2 separate regions of the Homo sapiens genome follow, and region 1 is linked to region 2. Evidence: promoter capture Hi-C in 16 types of primary human blood cells and fetal thymus (Javierre and others, 2016). All regions are on one chromosome and are shown on one strand. Each heading gives the region's core, a stretch centred on a gene start or on the middle of the fragment in contact. The rest is flanking DNA. Distances are from core to core; before and after follow the strand shown.

Region 1 (2,700 bases), core at 188-2,687, 130 kb before region 2:
ATCCACTACATTTTACATAAATAACATAATTTTATGAAAAATGGGATATATTTTTTCAAACAGAAAAATTTTCATAGGGGAAGAGTGTACTGTTTTACATGTTTACAAATCTTGTTAATATCTGACTTATGAGGAGACAACCAGTTTCTCAGATCAGCATTCCTTATGTTGTTCAGGTTAAAGTAGATGAAGAAAATCTAGCCTCACAAAGATACATAGTTAGAAAAAGTATTTTAGTAATCTTTTCAAATAACTGTGAATGTTCTCCTTTGATGACAAAACTTGATCATCAATAGCTTCTCAAAGATAAGGTAGTGTGGAATCTGAAATCCTATCACTGAATTTTTAAAGTCTACACATTTAAAACCCACAGGTTTATCTTAAGCTTCAGACAAACCTTTTATCCATTCATGATTCTGCCACTTCACACATGGGTCATTTGTAGAATATTGGTTCATTGAGTTATGGAGGTCTTCCAGATGTTTTATTTCATAATATGTATATTTTTTAAAAACACACACATTTGTTAATATCCCTATCCATCTCATCCCAAAAGTCTTTAGCTAGAATACCAAAAGAAAATATCTCCTCTTTAATATTATTAAAGTTGTGGCCTGAACGAGGGCTTCATTCATTCATTTTCCCGTGTGTTTAATAAGTCTTTAGGGCCAGGCGTGGTGGCTCAAGTCTGTAATCCCAGCAATTTGGGAGGCCAAGGTGGGAAAATCACTAGAGCCCAGGAGTTCGAGACCAGCCTGGGAAGCACAGTGAGACCCCGTCTCTACAAAAACAATAAATAAATTAGCCAGGCATGGTAGGACATGCCTGTTGTGCCAGCTACACAGGAAGCTGAGGTGACAAGATCGTTGGAGCCCAGGAGTTTGAGGCTGCAGTGAACCAGGATCACACTGCAGCGCTCCAGCCTGGGCGGCAGAGCAAGACATTGTCTCAATAAATAAATAAATAAGTCTTTAATGAGCATCTACTACATGCCAGTCATGTTTCTGGAAACTGGGGACAAATCCATGCCTTTGTAGCAGTTGCATTCTAGTGGGGATGGAGCCGGGAGAGAAACAATAAAAGGTGATACGTTATCATATGTTGGAAGTTGATAAGAGATAGACAGAAAAGATTAGAACAGAGGATGTGGGTGAGGAAGTGCTCGTAGTGGGTGGGGACCTGCGATTGAAATGATCTCACCTCCCTGCGGCCTCCCTTTGGTCTGCAGCCTCCCTTTGGTCTACAGCCAATGGTGGACAGTGTCAGATTTTGCCCCCAGCCTTCCCACCAGCTCTGCTATGGGATCAAACATTCTATGCTTGTTAGGTCCAAGCACTGTTTTCACTTTTGGTTGGGGAAAAATTGGCAGCTTCTCTTTCCGTATGTCATGTCTACATCCCAGCTATTCATAAACAAGCAGTCATGTTTCATGAATACCTGTCTAGCAAGGGGCAGATGAATAGGACGGGGAGCAGGGAGGAGACAGCTGTGAAGCAAAAACGTGACAATGGCTGGCAGGAACCCAGGGAATGCATTGCATTTATATTTGGAACTATGGGGGAAGATGCAGCTTAGATGGAGGCCATTCCAAGTCACCCAAGTGCTCAATGTTCAGAACCAGAATAGCACGTGGCGTGAAACTCTCTCATGGGCTGAGACTGGACAAGCTAGTTCCATTCTCTGACAAGTCTGGTCTTCCGGACTCGGCCCCTGGAAAGCTGCCTTTCTTCCTCATTACCCCTTCTCCTCTCCCCTTACCATGGGATCTTGTGAGCCTTTCTTCAACAGACACAGGCTCCTCCCTGCAGCTTTGTATGAAGTTCATAACTGGGCTCAGATCAAAGTTGTGGTGGAAGCCTTTAGAATTCTGAAGGAAGCAGAAAAGGCATTGAATGACACCCCCAAGACCAACTTTTATGTTTAATGAAAAAAATGTTGCAGCCAGTGGTAACATTTTTTTGAATGTACAATTTAGAAATGTCCACTGGGTGTCGCATGGCCCTGCTGGGAAACTAAATGCTACAAGATAGTGAAGCGTACACACTTTTTACCGTGATAAGCTAGTTTCATAGCTATGCACAAACTGACCATCGCTGAACTAATAACTGAGCACTATTTGAGAGACTATCTTTGTACACCTCTCAAATTCTGCAGTTACTGTTTTGACTTTTAAGTACCAGTCCCTGACGGGCACATGGTAGGGGTTATAATACACTATACCTCTCCAGTCATCCCTGGAACTCTAATTCTATCTTTATAAACAACTCATTATCACTGACATCCTTTTTTTTTGACAGGGTCTTGCTCTGTCACCTGGGCTTCAGTGCAATTGTGCAATCAGAGCTCACTGCTGCTTCAACCTCCCAGGCTCAAGCAATTCTCCTGTCTCAGCCTCCGAAGTAGCTAGGACCATAGGCATGTACTACCACGCCCAGCTAATTTTTTAATTTTTTTGTAGAGACAGAGTCTCGATATGTCGCCAAGCTTGGTCTCAAACTCCAAGGCTCAAGTGCTCAAGTGATCCACCCACCTCGACCTCCCAAAGTGCTGGGATTACAGGTATGAGCCACCACATCCAACCAACATCCATTTTTATGTGTACATGTGTAAAGTATGTAAATTATTTTAAAAGGCTGGGCGCAGTGGCTCACGCCTGTAATCCCAGCACTTTGGGAGGCTGAGGCGGGCAGATCACCTGAG
Region 2 (2,700 bases), core at 61-2,560:
CCTCCAAGTTTTCCTCTACGGAGCAGGCTTCATTATCTCTAATCTCTACCAAGTGAAAGCACAATTTCTAGGATACCCGGGACCCCTTTAAAGAGGGTGTAAATCCATTAGCAACTCCTCCCTAAAAATAGAGACCCGGCCTAGTCACCGCAGCTCTAGGCTGAGCTAGATCCTATCAACACAAATCGGGCCTCCTCCGTCCTCCCCAGGGCCGGGCGTTCCCGCGTCTCCTTCCTAAATACGTCCAGCCCTGATAAGGCCCGTCCTGAAGTCCACACTGCCCGCAAGCCGGTCTACTTAAAAGCCTGCCCATACGAAGAGCAAAAAATGCACTGACCATTGAAAAAAGAATTTATAACATGAAAAAAGAATTTATAACATACCACATCCGGCAGGGTCTCCGTTTCCGTTTCAAAGGGAGGGAAACAGAAAAACATGATTAAAGTAATAATTAGAAATAGGCCCGGTTTAGGGCGTGGGAGGGTGACCGTGGCTCTTTCTTCCCTGCCCACTTTTTCTGTTTTCCGAATTCTCCACCGCCGCAGATGGACAATTTGGTAAGCACACGTTTCTTTCTGCGCCCCGTGTTGCTTGGCGCACAGCACGCGCTGAAATTCCCGGAGCCCGCATCCACAGAGTATTTTTGAACATTTTCAGGGCTCAAAGTTTTTTTCTAACTTTTCCTTCCCTTCCCCCCACCACCCGGGTCTCAGGCTCCTAGCGATTCCAAATTTAGGCCCGGGACGCAGGGCGTGGCTGTGACAGGCAACTCCAGGGCGGCCTCCGCGCGCGGCCTGAAGACGCAGGTCCCCAAACCCTGGGGGTAGATAACGGGGTGGGGTGAGGGGCTCATGCAAAGGGAGAGAGATCTGTAAGAAGGTCCCCTAGATTGGGAAAAATCGGACGCACCTCTCCCAAGGCCGCCCCACATGTAAGAGTTTGCAACTCCGACAACAAACGCTGACTTTTCTCTCTGGAACGGCTCCAGGAAAAGCGTTGGGGAGAAAGTGGGCGCCTCCTCCGGGCCTGGGCCCCCGTGGGCACAGCGCGTCCTGCCGGGCAGGGAGGAGGCTCCGGGTGTCCCCGCGGGGCGCCCCCAACGCCGCATCTCAAGCGGATCCCCAGTCCCGGCCCGCGCCCTCCGCGTCCCCCAACCCGGATCCCTCCGCTCGCTCACCCGGGGCGGCGACCAGAACACCCAGCAGGCCGAAGAGCAGCAGCGCCAGCGCAGCCCCGCGGGCCATGGTGCGCCCAGAGCGCGCAGGGACGGTCCCGGAGTGCAGGGCGTGGGCGAAGGCGGCAGGACAGATACTCCCCCACGGGCCGGGTGGGGCGAAGCCCGGGGACTCGAAGGGGGCGGGTGAGGGGAGCGGCCCTGCAAGCTCAGCGCCGGCTGCGCCCGCCCCGCCCCGGCCTCCACGCGCGCACAGAAGGGGCGGGAACGCCGGGCCCGGGGAGGAGACAGAGGGGGTAGGCGGGCGGGGGTGGCCCAGGCAGCGCCGAGGGGAGTACGGTACACGCCCCGCCCCTTCTCAGGAAACTGCCCACGCCCCCTCACCCACCCACAGGGCCGTAGCCAGGGCGGCGCCGACCCGAAGCAAAGTGAACTACAACGTTCTCGGGAAAGTGCGGGTCCCTCCCGGTTTACAGCCCTCTGAATGCACGCCCGAGGGCGGCCCTTAACTGTAGTGGCACAAAACTGCCGCCCTTCTTGGAAACATAGAGCCCCCTCTCCCCACTCGCCCCTGCAGCCACTTCTCCGCCCCTCACCCCCTGGTCTCCAGTGGGAGCAAAAAAACAAACTTTCCCAGCAGCTCCCCTGCTCGGGAAAGTGCGGGTCCCTCCCTGTCTACAGCCTCCTAAATGCACGCCTGCAACTGTAGCGACACGAAACTGCCGCCCTTCTTGGAAACGTGTAGCCCCCCTCCCCACTCGCCCCTGCAGCCCCTTCTCCGCCCCTAGCAGGGACCCTCCCCTGCTCTGCAGTGGGAGCAGAGGAAACTCCCGGCTCCCCTGCTGGGAAAAGTATGGGGGCCCCTCCCCGCTGCTCACCTCAGGGAGTTCCCCAAGGGGAGCAAAGTGCAATCCTCTCCCTGCTCAGGAAGCCTAGGCCCCCGCTCCACAGGCAACCCCCGTCCCAAGTCCTTTCTAGAGCGTCCGAGCGCGGGGTGCGCAGCCGGGAGGGTGGCGGACGAACCCTTTGCGCCGGACCAAGGACAACCCTTGGAGTAGCCTCTGCGCTGGGGCAGTTTCTCCCCAGAATCCCCAGGACAAGGTTGGGAGTGGGGACTCCTGGTCACGGGAGTTAGTGAGGGGCAATAGGGAACGAGGTGCCTTCTATCTGGGGCACCTGGGCCCTAGTCCTGGTCATGGGCGACTCGCCTTCCAGTGGGCTTTGAGTTTAGACACCCTCCCGCGCCACTGGCCACAGCTGCAGTGCAGTTGTCGCCCTTCCCACACTTAACAATGTTATCTGTTAACACCTAAGCCTAAAATTGTATCCATTTTCCCGCAGGGTAGTGGAACAACTTTGCAGCCTGACAAATAACCCTGAATATTCTTGCATTCCACACTTCAAACTGTCCACGAAAAGAGTCAAACTAGGCCGGGCGCGGTGGCTCACGCCTGGAATCCCAGCGCTTTGGGAGACCGAGGCGGGTGGATCACCTGAGGTCAGGAATTGGAGACCAGCCTGACCAA

The links. Contacts are between HindIII fragments. The CHiCAGO score rates a contact against its expected background, and 5 or more counts as called.
Region 1: a fragment that was not itself captured here is called in contact with the fragment with the promoter of CD99 in region 2 in 3 of 17 cell types (fetal thymus, endothelial precursors and megakaryocytes); the score reaches 7.4 in fetal thymus.

What each region holds. Positions count from the first base shown.
Region 1 is chrX:2,819,019-2,821,718 of GRCh38, reverse strand. No RefSeq gene overlaps it. Among named protein-coding and RNA genes, the nearest start is that of GYG2, 8.6 kb to the left of the region's middle. The HindIII fragment of the contact is 2,099 bases long and covers 388-2,486 here.
Region 2 is chrX:2,689,905-2,692,604 of GRCh38, reverse strand. CD99 (CD99 molecule (Xg blood group)) reads right to left here and starts at 1,310. Exons shown (of 10, transcript NM_002414.5): 1 at 1,178-1,310. The coding sequence starts at 1,244. The HindIII fragment of the contact is 9,076 bases long and covers 1-2,700 here.